Linked DNA regions of Homo sapiens: regions 1, 2, 3 and 5 are each linked to region 4. Evidence: promoter capture Hi-C in 16 types of primary human blood cells and fetal thymus (Javierre and others, 2016). All regions are on one chromosome and are shown on one strand. Each heading gives the region's core, a stretch centred on a gene start or on the middle of the fragment in contact. The rest is flanking DNA. Distances are from core to core; before and after follow the strand shown.

What was found. Contacts are between HindIII fragments. The CHiCAGO score rates a contact against its expected background, and 5 or more counts as called.
Region 1: a contact is called between a fragment that was not itself captured here and the fragment with the promoter of OTUD5 in region 4, in 1 of 17 cell types (neutrophils). The highest score is 6.1, in neutrophils.
Region 2: a contact is called between the fragment with the promoter of EBP here and the fragment with the promoter of OTUD5 in region 4, in 2 of 17 cell types (neutrophils and naive CD4 T cells). The highest score is 7.7, in neutrophils.
Region 3: a contact is called between the fragment with the promoter of WAS here and the fragment with the promoter of OTUD5 in region 4, in 4 of 17 cell types (non-activated CD4 T cells, activated CD4 T cells, M1 macrophages and 1 more). The highest score is 7.0, in non-activated CD4 T cells.
Region 5: a contact is called between a fragment that was not itself captured here and the fragment with the promoter of OTUD5 in region 4, in 1 of 17 cell types (non-activated CD4 T cells). The highest score is 5.1, in non-activated CD4 T cells.

The regions. Positions count from the first base shown.
Region 1 is chrX:49,273,787-49,276,486 of GRCh38, forward strand. The region is part of intron 1 of PPP1R3F (protein phosphatase 1 regulatory subunit 3F); the gene reads left to right. Among named protein-coding and RNA genes, the nearest start is that of PPP1R3F, 5.3 kb to the left of the region's middle. The HindIII fragment of the contact is 1,188 bases long and covers 840-2,027 here.
Region 2 is chrX:48,520,558-48,523,257 of GRCh38, forward strand. It overlaps EBP (EBP cholestenol delta-isomerase), which reads left to right and starts at 1,251. Exons shown (of 5, transcript NM_006579.3): 1 at 1,251-1,350. PORCN (porcupine O-acyltransferase) reads left to right here. Exons shown (of 15, transcript NM_203475.3): 15 at 1-251. RefSeq lists silencers at 92-151, 1,066-1,295, 1,356-1,535. The HindIII fragment of the contact is 9,622 bases long and covers 1-2,065 here.
Region 3 is chrX:48,682,483-48,685,182 of GRCh38, forward strand. WAS (WASP actin nucleation promoting factor) reads left to right here and starts at 1,317. Exons shown (of 12, transcript NM_000377.3): 1 at 1,317-1,503; 2 at 1,801-1,941. The coding sequence starts at 1,372. The HindIII fragment of the contact is 18,512 bases long and covers 1-2,700 here.
Region 4 is chrX:48,956,243-48,958,942 of GRCh38, forward strand. OTUD5 (OTU deubiquitinase 5) reads right to left here and starts at 1,365. Exons shown (of 9, transcript NM_001136157.2): 1 at 735-1,365. The coding sequence starts at 1,328. RefSeq lists silencers at 982-1,041, 1,412-1,461, 1,662-1,821 and an enhancer at 1,922-2,111. The HindIII fragment of the contact is 4,109 bases long and covers 40-2,700 here.
Region 5 is chrX:49,238,946-49,241,645 of GRCh38, forward strand. The region is part of intron 2 of CCDC22 (CCC complex scaffolding subunit CCDC22); the gene reads left to right. Among named protein-coding and RNA genes, the nearest start is that of CCDC22, 4.8 kb to the left of the region's middle. The HindIII fragment of the contact is 1,720 bases long and covers 455-2,174 here.

The DNA of each region.
Region 1 (2,700 bases), core at 184-2,683, 320 kb after region 4:
TGAGCACAGCCACATCAGGTGAGGGCATGGGAGAAGTCCGTGGTAGCCATCAGGATAGAGTTCAGAAACCCAAATGGCTGCTTTCCCTGGGTTGCTGGACCAGGCATTTGGTAACTCTAAAGCTTAGAGATGATTCATCGACAAGCATTTATTGACTGCCTACTGTGTGCTGGGCACAGTGCTAGGTTCCAGCAGGGAAAGAGATGCAGAGTGGTCCTAAGATGTCACAGGGCTTGTGGGATGGAGTACAGAGGATTTGTTGTATGAGACCTGGCTGAGCCCCTGCTCTTCGCCAGGCACTTCACTGAGTACTATATTTTCATGCAAGGTCTGGTTTAATTCCGACAACATTCCCTGTGAAGTAGAGGGTTTTAAATTTCTCTTTCCTGGATGAGCAAACTGAGGCTCCCAGAGTCCAAAGTCCTAGGGCTGGTGTGGGGAAAAGCCCTCCTGATCTTCCTTGGCACTTGACACTACCCTTTGGAAGTGTCCTATTCTTCTTAAAAGTAAAGACCAAGAGAGCCTCACCATGGTCTTCAAGCACCCTCCCATCCCATTCCCCAATCTGGCCTCCACTGGCTCATAGTCTTAACACCAGTGGTCTTTCTGAGCTCCTGTCACCATGGTCTTTCTGTTACTCCAAAGGGCCTCGCTCCTTTCTGCTGCAGGGCCTTTGCCCCTGCTGTTTCCTTCACCAGGAACATTTATCCCGTACCCCTTGCAGTCTCCTCCAGTGTTGATCCCTCAGTTCTAAGAGGACTTCCCCAGGGGAGCCTGTCCACCCCAGTGTCCTCGGGCCCCTGGCTTTTTCATAGCACTCATCAGCCCAGCACGTGCTAAGCTTTGTTAGAGAATGTCCCATGGCAGAGCAGATGAACATCGCCACCAGTCGAGGGGTCATCGGCCACCCTGCCTAGCAGTTCTACTATATTTTTTTGATCCACTCGTTTCTCCTCTGAAGTGACTCTTTCAAATGTTCTTTACCTTCAGACTTTCTCTCCTGCTTCAAAAAACAAAACAGAAGCCATAAGAATGGAACTCCCTATAACTTGTGGCCCCCAAGTCTGCACGCTGATTTCCCTCCCCTGTGTTACAGATGACGAGGAGTCCCTTCTTGCTCAGGCCACTTCTCCCTCCTGTGCTCTGGGTCCCAGTTTCTGCTACTTGCTCTAGAATCTGACATCATCAGTCACCTTTTCTCTCCTGGCAGGTTTTCTGCTGCCCTCCTTGCTTGATCCTCTATTCACCTTTGCCTGTGCCAGCATCCCTTCTGTCTCCGCTGACCCCACGTTCTCTCCCTCCTGCTTCTGGCCAGCACCTCATCACCCTCCCCTTCACTGCTGACCCCTGCAGAGTTGCCTGTACTTGCCTTCTGCACTTGCTCACCCCCGTAAGTGTTAGCCCCCGGCATCTGCCAGATTCTGCAGGTGGTTTTTTAGTTTTCCTCTTGAAGTGGTTGACCACTCCTACTTAAAACACTTTGTCTTCCCTTGCCTTGAGACCACACTCTGCTGGTTTTCCTCTTAACTCTCTGGCCCTTCTCTTTCTCCTGGCTCTTCCCTTAGCTTCATGTATCCAAACTCGGCATCTCCACTTGACTGATGGCCCAAATAATTCCTCAAACTCACCTTGTCGGGGACTGCATTCATCACCTCTCCCACAGTGTTCCCAAGCAGCCTCTCACTCCCCTACCTCCCCACTTGCTCGTTTTGCTTTTCAGCATCCTTAAGTAAGCCCTGCCTGACCCTGTAGATTGGGCCAGGGACCCTTATTCTAGGGCATTCTTTCCTTTTCTAAAGGCACTGATCGCAGTTTGTAGTTATATCTTTATTAGGGGGTTGCTGGATGACTCTCTGCCCCGCTAGACTGTAAGCTCCGTGAGGGGTAGGGACATGGTCTGCTTTCATTCACCACTGTATTCCTGCAGGCCTGCCACAGTGCCTGGCACTTAGCAGGTGCTCAATAAATGTTTGTTGAAATAATGAGTTTGAGTATTTTTTTAATGTCTTCCTCCATACTGAATTGTAAGCTTCCTAGTTGGGTTTGCTCACCATGGTGTCTCCAGGATCCGTCACTGGGGCTGATGCACAGGAAGGCCCACTGTCTTTCAGTGCACCTATAACTGAAGGGATGGGGATCCAACCTGCTATCTGAGTTGGCAGCCTCAGGGGAAACCAGAATAACTGGAGTTGAACGGGACAAGTCAGGGGCATCTTAGTTTTCTGTAGAGTGAGGAATTAATGTGAACGTGATCCTCTTTTATGCCACAGAAAACTTGGTAGGGCATTATGGTTAAGGACATGGGCCTGAGGCCACGTGCTAAGAAAGTGGCAGAGCTGGGATCTGAGCCTGTGTGGTCCTGCTCTAGTGCTCCAGCTCTTAGCTACTGTACCAGGCTGGGTGATGCATTTTACCAGCAGGGCAACACTGGGCAAGTTGCTTTCCTTTCAGAGCTTCAGTTTCCCTCAATGGAAATTTGGAGGGGGTTACTGTTAAGTGCTTTATAGGTACTTTTCAAATATTTCTTTGATCTGCTGAACAACTCACTGATGTAGGTATTATTATCCCCTCCTTAGAGATGAGGTAACTGAGGCACAGAGAGGTTAAGTAACTTGCCCCAGGTCACACAGCTGATAGGTGGCAGAGCTGGAATTGTTCAAAATTGCATATCCTAACCCTTTATTGAGTTGTGAAATCAAT
Region 2 (2,700 bases), core at 1-2,500, 440 kb before region 4:
TACTCCTTGACCCCCTCCATCCTTGACCCCCAACACCTCAACACACACACACACACACACACACAAAATCACACCATTTTCATGCCTGTCAATCCCCACCCCACCACAAGGCAGGAAGGGGGTGGTGCCTGCTGGGGCCTAGAGGGGGATGCTTGGGGAAACAGAGAAGGGGAGATCCAGGGCCTCCCCGCCTTCCTTCTTCCTTTTTATATACAATTTGTTATTGTCAAATAAAAGTAGGAAATATTCAATAGGCTTCTTCTTCACTGCTCAGAGGGGAATAGGAATGAGTGAGGAAGGGAGCACAGCATGGATAAAGGTTTGGAAGCTGGAAACCATGAAGAGAGAGCAGACTGTGATTGGTTCATGGTTAGTTTATGATTGATTAGATGATGAGCCTGAAGATGGCAGGATCCTGGTCCTGCTTGGTTTGATCAGGGCAGGGACAGATTGCATAGTTGGATGTGGGGGAGGCCTGATTGGCTGGAAAACTGAAGGATCCCCATTCTGATTGGTTGCTCTGAGTGGGACACAGAGGAGAGAAAGCAAGAGAGATGAAGGGTTGGTGCCTATTTATCCTTAGGACTGAGGGTTGTGGGTTCTAATTGGATGGGAGGTCTGGGATGGGTCTGGATTCTGATTGATTGCTCCATCTGGGGGCCCACTGGTGGTTAGGCGTTTGATTGGCTTTTTAGAACTGGCATATGGAGATTGAGGGTCTTCATGCCAATTGGTCAGTAGGACTGAGAGGCCTGGGTTCTAACTAGTTCTTCTGACTTGAGGTCGGGAGAAGAGAGAATGACCGCTGCTATTAGGACTGAGGAGTTCTGAGCACTGAAGAGCTGGGGAGGGGGTGGTTGCAGTGTATAGCGTGTGATCTGCTTGTAACAGTTTCGTTGCATTATACTAAGGGTTACTCTACCTAGAAAAGGGCGGAGGTGAAAGGATGCAACGCAACGCTAATTTCACCAGCGGAAGAAGCGGGTACAGACCTTAATGAGTCCCCGTTTTGATCGACTGATAAGGGAATGGGGAAATTGAAGCCAGGACTCGATGCAGATTGGCTACGGATCCAAAACGCCCACTAACCTTGGCGCGTCCCAGTCTCCACCCCAAACCTAACTCAGGTGAAAATGGCGCCACGCGCGGGGGCGGGGCTAGAGGTACAAAGAGAGTGTCTATTGGTTGGGAGCGGCACGGGCCGCCTTCTTCGCTTCACCATTGGCTCGCTCCGTAAGGCAAGAGAACCCACTAGGGGATGAGCCCGAACTAGGGATGTGACAGAGCGCGAGACCCAGCCTAAAGAGAGCCCGGAGCCAGCGTGGGAGGCCGCTGCCGTCGCGCGCCTTGGTGAGTGCCCTCCACCCGGCCCCTGCTCCCTCCCCCAGCTCTCCCCGGCTACGCGGCCAGCCCTCGGCGTGCCAGCGCGAGACCCTTTGCCACCCGCCCCCCCCACCGCCCTTTTGCGCCTGCGCGAGACCCCCAGCTACCGCACGGTTGTCCAGAGGACAGAAGATCCGTCTTCTCATTGGGCAGCGGGACTGGAGGGTTCTGGTTCGGATTGACCGGCTTTGTGTTCCGTTCTAGCGCTGCACGCCAGACACCGGCCTTTCAATATCCGTCTCTTCCCTGCAGGTTGACGGCGTTGCACGCTCTCGCGGGGAGGCTCTGGCTTTCCAAACGCTGGCACCGAGGGTTGTAGTTCTGATTCGTTTTCTTTCCTCTGTCCCCCAGTTGCAGTTTTCAGGACTACGTGGGGGAGGGAATAGCTTTTTGTTGAACGGTTTAAGACGCTGACCTGTGCAACTGGACCACGCCTGGTTCCTGTGTCTCTTACCAAACCGTGACCCCGGAGCACAGGACTGGGTTTGGTGGTCGTGAGCAGTTTGTGACCCTTGAAGGAAGACACCAGGCCTGGTCCTGTATCTCCCTCGCCAGACTGTGACCAGGGAGGGCTGGGATCAGGTGTTGTTCCCATGTGCCTCCCACCAGACTTTGACCCCCGAGGGCTGAGACCGGGACTGTTTCTACCACATCATAATATGGCTTCTAAAGGGCTGGAACAAGCTTTCAGCCTTTCTGTGGCCTTGTGTTTCAGTCATGTTCTTTTTCTTTTCTTTTTTATTTTATTTTGAGACAGAGTCTCGCTCTGTTGCCCAGGCTGGAGTGCAGTGGCATGACCCCGGCTCACTGCAGCCTCTGCCTCCCAGGTTCAAGCGATTCTCCTGCCTCAGCCTCCTGAGTAGCTGTAACTACAGGCGCACGCCACCACACCTGGCTAATTTTTGTATTTTTAGTAGAGACGGGGTTTTGCCATGTTGGCCGGGCTGGTCTTGAACTCCTGAGCTCAAGTGGTCCACTCGTCTTGGCCTCCCAAAGTGCTGGGATTACAGGCGTGAGCCACCGCGCCCGGCCTTCTTTTTTAGAGGCAGAGTCTCAGACTGGAGGGCAGTGATGTGGTCACTGCTCACTTCAGCCTTGAAGTCCTGGGCTCAAAGCGATCCTCCTGCCTCAGCCTACCTACTAGCTGGGACTACAGGCCTTTGTCACCACACCTGACTGATTTTCTTATTTTTTTAGAGACAGTTTCGCTGTGTTGCCCAGGCCGGACTTGAATTCCTGGCCTCAGGTGCTGCTCCTGCATCAGCCTCCCAAAGCACTGGAATTACCTGCCACGGTGCCTGGCCTTTAGTCATGGTC
Region 3 (2,700 bases), core at 67-2,566, 270 kb before region 4:
GTCCAGTGGGGAGAAAGCAAGCCTTTGAAGATTATGTGCTTTTACAAACTTCAAGTGCAATGAAAACTAAACAAGATGTTGTTCAGGCATTCATATATGATATAAAGTTCCTTTCTTTAAAAAAGGGATGGGCTGGGCACGGTGGCTCACGCCTGTAATTCTAATACTTTGGGAGGCCGAGGCAGGTGGATCACGAGGTCGAGAAATCGAGACCATCCTGGCCAACATGGTGAAACCCTGTCTCTACTAAAAATACAAAAAAATTAGCTGGGCGTGGTGGCGTGTGCCTGTAGTCCCAGCTACTTGGGAGGCTGAGGCAGGAGAGTCACTTGAACCCGGGAGGCAAAGGTTGCAGTGAGCCGAGATCGTGCCACCGCACTCCAGCCTGGCGACAGAGTGAGACTCCATCTCAAAAAAAAAAAGAAAAAAAAAAGTATGACAAGCAGAAAGTAATTTGGGAGCTGCGGGGAGGCAAGGGTAAGGGATGGGGAAGTGGACCAGAGGCATATGCGTCATTGGCAGTGTCTAAGCACTCACGATAGGCGTGGATCACAGGGGCTCGCTCTGTAATTAAAAGGAAAAGGGTTTTTGTTGTGTTGTTGTTGTTGCTGTTTTTGAGACAAGGGTCTTGCTCTGTCATCATCCAGGCTGGAGTGCAGTGGTGCAGTCTCAGCTCACTGCAACCTCCGCCTCCTGGGTTCAAGCGATTCTCCTGCCTCAGCCTCCTGAGCAGCTAGGACTACAGGTGTGTGCCACCATGCCTGGCTAATTTTTGTATTTTTTAGTGGAAATGGGGTTTTGCCATGTTGCCCAGGCTCGTCTTGAACTCCTGACCTCAAGTGATCCACTCGTCTCGGCCTCCCAAAGTGCTGGGATTACAGGTGTGAGCTATTGTCCCCAGCCAAAAGGAAAAGTTTTACTGTAGTAACCCTTCCGGACTAGGGACCTCGGGCCTCAGCCTCAGGCTACCTAGGTGCTTTAGAAAGGAGGCCACCCAGGCCCATGACTACTCCTTGCCACAGGGAGCCCTGCACACAGATGTGCTAAGCTCTCGCTGCCAGCCAGAGGGAGGAGGGTCTGAGCCAGTCAGAAGGAGATGGGCCCCAGAGAGTAAGAAAGGGGGAGGAGGACCCAAGCTGATCCAAAAGGTGGGTCTAAGCAGTCAAGTGGAGGAGGGTTCCAATCTGATGGCGGAGGGCCCAAGCTCAGCCTAACGAGGAGGCCAGGCCCACCAAGGGGCCCCTGGAGGACTTGTTTCCCTTGTCCCTTGTGGTTTTTTGCATTTCCTGTTCCCTTGCTGCTCATTGCGGAAGTTCCTCTTCTTACCCTGCACCCAGAGCCTCGCCAGAGAAGACAAGGGCAGAAAGCACCATGAGTGGGGGCCCAATGGGAGGAAGGCCCGGGGGCCGAGGAGCACCAGCGGTTCAGCAGAACATACCCTCCACCCTCCTCCAGGACCACGAGAACCAGCGACTCTTTGAGATGCTTGGACGAAAATGCTTGGTGAGCTGGGGATCTCCTGCCCCCGCCCCGTCCCCACCGTTTCTTCCTCTTCCTCTCCTCCTTCTCTCTCTTCCCCTCCTCCCGCTCCTCCTTTCCCTCTCCATCATCTCCTCTCCTAGAATTTCCCGTCATAATCCACCCTTCCCAGGAAGATCTCAATGTCTACTTGCCTTCCCTCTGGCTGCAGCTCTTCCTTTGGGCCCATGACTGTCATGAGGCAGGAAGGACCAGGTCTGGCTCCAAGACCTTGTGGCTACCCCTGACCAGACTCCACTGACCCCTGCTTTCCTCTCCCAGACGCTGGCCACTGCAGTTGTTCAGCTGTACCTGGCGCTGCCCCCTGGAGCTGAGCACTGGACCAAGGAGCATTGTGGGGCTGTGTGCTTCGTGAAGGATAACCCCCAGAAGTCCTACTTCATCCGCCTTTACGGCCTTCAGGTGACCCCCCCACCCCCGACTGGACTTGCAAGCCAGTTCTCAACCCGCAAACCCAGATCTGTGTCCATATGTGTCCATAGCTTCAAGACCTCAGACCTGATCAGTGAATCCCTGAGCCCCAGAACCAAAGACTCATCCAGATGGCAAACTCTGACTTGCCTTTCTAAGTCTGCAATGACTGGCCCCAGTCTCCGTATCAAGATCTCTAAAGCCCCCAGTATTAGTCTGCTGCCTAAGCCTAATCTTTTCCACAAATTCCAATAAATGAGCACTGTATTTGTACCTGAACCTCAAATCTATTCTAAACTCAACATTTTGCATCCCAGGAATCTCTCATCAAAACTCCTGAACCCCAGATGTTTGCCAAGCTCCTAAGTCATAAATCTGTTCAACAAACCCCAAAGTTGAATATTCCATTGATCCTTGAACTCCAAATCTGTCCTTCTAAATCCACAGCACAGACCCCAGAGTTCCCATATTAAAATTCCTGAACACTCAAATACCGAGGTAGTTCTTAAGCAAAAAGTCTTTTCCACAATCCCCTGACCTGAACTTTCTAGGTTTAAGCCCCAAATTCATCCTTTTAAACCCATAAAGATGGACCCAGCATAACTTCCAGATCCCAAGGCTATCAAATATCCACCAAACTCCTAAACCATAACTCTCTCCACAAACCCCAAATTGCACTTACTTTAGCTGGACTCCCCGCGAAACTCCCAAGTCTATGTGTCTGAACTTCAAATCTCAACTCCAACCCCC
Region 4 (2,700 bases), core at 115-2,614:
ATCATATCTCCCTGTGAAAAGTCTTACATCCCTGGAAAAAGCTTAGAAGATCCCTATCCTTAAAGGGGGCGTGTGTGTGTGTGTGTGTGTCAGGACCTTGATTCTAGAAGCAGGACTCTCAGGCCCCTGAAGACAGACTTAGGACCCTTGAGGTCTCAGGTCTGGCTATTCAGTGGTCCTGTGCAGTGTTACCCAGCGAAGCGGGAGAGGATTGTCCTATATGCAGAGTGTCTCAGACTCTTGAAAGGGCTTAGGCTCCTTGGGGATGTTCAGCCCCGATCTCCGAGGTCTCCACCTTATTTGACTTTCCTGGAAGGGGAATCTCAAACTTCTATCCCAGAGGAAAAGAGCTCTTAAGCCACTGAACACATACCTAAGTCTCTTGGGAGACCTGAGACTCCTACTCAAGAGGGGCGCGATCCTACCTGTATCTCTTGGAGAATTCCCACCTATTGGCCCTATATGATGAGGTCCCAGGGACTGGAATGACGACTATAGACCTTAAAAGAGACCTCGGATCTTTAAGTCTGACACCTTACCGTAGGCCTCTAGCCCCAAAATCCTGGAGGGGAGGAAAGAAGGTGTCTCACATCCCTACCGCCAGAGAAGACTGTCAGGCCCAGTGAAAACGCCTAGATCCCTTGGGGCGATCTCAAACAGCCTTCCTTGAGTCCCTTCACAGTCTGGGGGTCCCATCTGCCGTGGCCGCTCACCCCTCACCCCACAGCTCTTACCTGCTCGACAGTGGCAGGGTCCATAGCCTCGATGCGTGCTGCAGCCGCCTCATACTCGTCCTCACTGTTGTAGCCTGCGCCGACCTCCTCACGCTCGGGACTGCCCCCGCCAACCGCGCCAACCCCGGGAGCTTGACGTCGCCGCTTGCTGTGCCCAGGCCCGGAGCAGCAGCCGCCCACGCCTACGGCACCACCCACACCCACCACCACGCCCGCGGCACCCACACCCGCCGCCGCTGCGCCCAGCGCGTCGCCGGGACCGCCGCCGGGACCACCTGGGCCCCCGCAAGGAGGTGGAGAAGCCTGTTGTGGCCGGGGACCCGCCACTGCACCAGGCGGCACGGCCAGCGCCCAGCGATGAAGAGCGCCCGGCGGTCCTGGTAGCGGGCCTTGAGGCGGTGGCGAAGCTCGCGGACGGGCCCCCACGACGCCGGAGTCACGGTCGCGATCGCCGCCGCCCACGCCCGTGCCGCCGCCGCCCACGCCCACACCTCCGCCGCGCCGCGGCGCCGGGGGCATCGGCCCGGGCGGCGGCGGCTCGTTGGCGGGGTCGGCGTCGGGAGGCGGCGGCTTCTTTTTGGGGAGTATAGTCATGGCTGCACTGCCGAGTACCCCCCAACAAACCCGGCGCGGGGCACGCCGGGAGAGAACCCGGATGAGGGGGCTAGTGTAGTGCGCGAGGCACGACGGGAACGGCGAGACCCGGATAAAGGGATCGCGGCACCGGTTCGAGAACCCTCGGCGGCGGAGGAGGCGGCGGCGGCGGCGGCGGCGGTGGCGGCGCGCGGGTCACGCCGAGAGGAGAACCCGGATGTAAAGTCCAAGATGAAGGCAGTGCGGCGAGTTTGTCTTAGCCTTCTCTCCAAGTCCAGCAAGTTTATTGCTACGCTTGTTCCGGCCTTCTGCTTCAAAGGAAACAGAACCAAAACAAGCACCTCTTCGCTCCGCCCCCTCGCAGGTTCTTGCACTACCGGGTGGGGCCCCGGGGCGCTGCGCACGCGCGCCAGGGCACAGCCCCGCCCCTTACTCGGAAGTACGTGGGCAAAATCGCCGCCGCCGCCGCCACAACAATTGCAACACCAACCAATTGAGCAGCTGCGTGGGACCTCGACGACGCCCACGGGCCAATCACAGGCGAGTGCTCGCCCTCCGGTGCCCTCCGTCTCAAATTTCAGTCAAAGTCGACACCCTGGTTCCCAGCCTTTCTCCCCGTCAGTTCCGTCTTGCTCTTCACTTTTCTCCCCGAAGCTCTGACCTGCAGGCGTCGGTACTGCGGACGGACAGCGTGGCCTGTCCCACGTACGACAGGAAAAACACCTCCCCTCCAGGATTCCAACTTGAACGCTGTCAGCCGGAATGACTGGAAAACATCAACACTCCCGGGAGCATAGCTGGCCCCTGTAGCGTCACTTCCGGTCCCACCCACCTACAAATACCCTTCCGGGGGAGGCGGACACCGCTTCGCCCCGGCAACAGCCTGAGTTCTGCGGTGATTGGTTAAGAGACGCCGTCACTCGCGGCATACCGACCAACCTTGGGACAGACAGGCGCCGTGGGGACAGTGGTTGTTTGGGAAACAGACACGCCTTCTCTGGCACCACAGCACTCTCGGCCTCGCGTTGACCTCCCCGCCCCTATGGCTAGTGCGCAGGCGCGGCCCAGCCTTTTTTTTTTTTTTTTTTTTTTTTTTTCCTAATTGAGACAGGGGTCTCACTCTGTCGCCCAGGTTGGAATGCAGTGGCGCGATCATAGCTCACTGCAAACTCCAACTCCCAGGTTCAAGCGATCCTCCCGCCTCAGCCTCCCGAATAGCTGGGACCACAGGCGCGCACCACTACGACCGGCTAATTTTTTTTTCACTTTTTTGTAGGGACAAAGTCTCACTATGTTGCCCAGGCTGATCTCCAGCTCCCGGGCTCAAGCGATCCTCCCGCCTCGGCTTCCCAGAGTGCTGGGATTACAGGCG
Region 5 (2,700 bases), core at 65-2,564, 280 kb after region 4:
CTGCAAGTAATGCCACTCCCCCTGGCTCACTCACTCTGTGACTTTGGGCCAGTCTTTTTTTTTTTTGAAGCCCAGGCTGGAGTGCAGTGGCACAATCTCGGCTTACTGCAACCTCCTCCGCCTCCTGGGTTCCAGCAATTCTCCTGCCTCAGCCTGCCGAGTGGCTGGGATTACAGGTGTCTGCCACTGTGCCCGGCTAATTTTTTTGTATTTTTAGTGGAGACAGGGTTTCACCATCTTGGCCAGGCTGGTCTCGAACTCCTGACCTTGTGATCCACCCACCTCAGCCTCCCAAAGTGTTGGGATTACAGGTGTGAGCCACCGCGTCTGGCTCTCTTAACCTTTTTGAGGCTAAGTTTCCACATGTGTAAAATGGGTATAAGAATTGTAGCTACTGTATAGGGTTGCTGTGAGGATTAAACATGAGTTAATGTGTGAAAAGCTGGTTATAATAAGCTTTGCATAAATGGGATTACTATTATTGGATAGGTCCGATCTGGAACCTGTGAATACATAGTGAATGGAAACACTTTGAACTGACCCAGGAAGTATATGGTGGTGGAGGGACGATAGAGTAACTACCGTGAAAACTTTCATTTAGATATAGGGGACTGGGTGGCTAGAGTTGTTAAATTTGGGCCTTGCTTATGCAGTCTCTGTCTCTTAGCAACAGGTCTCAGAGCTCCATCCATCCCTTCGCTCTCAGGTTCACCCAGCTCTCAGGAGTTGTCACATTGTTCTCTCTGGGGCTCTTGGTGGCCTTATGAGGCAGGCAGTCTGTCCCCTGGCCCAGGACTGTATGTATTCTTAAGGTTAGCACTTAATAGGGGGGAAGTTATGTCTTCTGTTTGCAGAGGAGAGTACACAGCAGGAGGTGTTGAGGTGGGGGCTCAGGCTTCCTGCAGTTCTCTGTTCTTCCCTCAGTGCTGTCTCTCTTGGATTTTGTTCACCTGCTTTTGCTTACATTGATTTTAGTGGGGGTTAGTGACTATGGCTTTTCCAGTGGCCAGGAGGTACATGTGGGCTGGGCACGTTGGCTCTTGCATGTAATCCCAGCACTTTGGGAGTCTGAGGTGGGAGGATCAGTTGAGCCCAGGAGCTCGAGATCAGCCTGGGCAACATAGTGAGACCCCCATCTCTACAAAAAATAAAAAAAAAATAGCTGGGCATGGTGGCACACGCCTGTGGTCCCAGCTATGTGGGAGGCTGAGGTAGGAGGATTGCTTGAGCCTGGGAGGTCCAGGCTGCAGTGGGCTGTGATTGCGCCACTGCACTCTAGCTTGGGAAACAGAGTGAAACCCCATCTCCAAAAAAAAAAAAAAAAAAAAGACTGGGGACGGTGGCTCCTGTAATTCCAGCACTTTGGGAGGTGGAGGCGGGCAGATCTCACCAGAGGTCAGGAGTTTGAGACCAGCCTGGCCAACCTGGCGAAACCCTGTCTCTACTAAAAATACAAAAATTAGCCTGGTGTGGTGGTGTGTGCCTGTAATCCCAGCTACTCAGGAGGCTGAGGCAGGAGAATCGCTTGAACCCAGGAGGCGGAGGTTCCAGTGAGTCGAGATTGCACCACTGCACTCCAGCCTGAGCGACAGAGCAAGACTCTTGTTTCCAAAAAAATAAAAAACAGGTACATATGGTTGTCTGGCCCCCAGCAGCCTTGGTTTATCAGCAGCAGGCAAAAGGAGTTCTCTTAATCCAGCTGTGTGCTGTCCCTGTAGCCCCCCCGCAACTCAGCACTGCCATGTTCTGGCATCTTTTCTTCATATGCCCTGCTCCTGGCAACAGTTTCTGCACCTTAGCCACCTCCATATTTTGGCACCTTCCCCACTCCTGGAATGAGTTTCTATATCAGTCACAGCTCTTTGATTGCATATTGTGGAAAAAATCCAAAGTAAAATACCTTAAAAGCCAGTGGTTATACTTATTTGACCTTGAGCCTCCAAAATAAATATATCTTGCATTGTGACCCAGTATACTCCTAAGTATAGAATAATGATGGCTTCTAAGTGTACTCTGTGCCAGGCCCTGTGGTAAGTAACATGGTGTTAACTCATTTAATTCTCAGGACAACCTTCTGCTATATGTACTGTTGGTATACCCTCTTTCAGATGAAGAAAGTGAAGCACAGAGGGATTAAGTGATCTGCCTGAGGTCGTATAGTTGGTAAGAGGCAAAGCTTGGGTTTGAATCCAGGAAGTCTGCTTTCAGAGTCTATGCAGTTCCAAAGCAGTGGCAACTCTGGAAGAAAAAGGCTTTCCTAGGCCGGGTGTGGTGATTCCCACCTGTAATCCCAGCACTTTGGGTGGCTGAGGTGGGCAGATTGCTTGAGCCCAGGAGTTTGAGACCAGCCTGGCCAACATGGTGTAGCCCTGTCTACACTGAAAATACAAAAATTAGCCGGGTGTGGTGGCATGCACCTGTAATCCCAGCTACTCGGGAGGCTGCGTGGGAGGATCACTTGAGCCCAGGAGGCAGAGGTTCCAGTGAGCCAAGATCACGCTACTGCACTCCAGCCTGAGCGACAGAGCGAGACCCTGTCTCAAAAAAAAAAAAAAAAAAAAAGGAAAAAGGCTTTCTTTCTCTCCTGGCCTGTTTCCTCAGTCCCCATCAGAACCCTCATGAGTCCTTTTGTTCTGAGCTATTGTGCTTCTGGTCTTTTTGTCCTGTTTATTTTTAGGCACTCTTTCTATAATAGGTAGA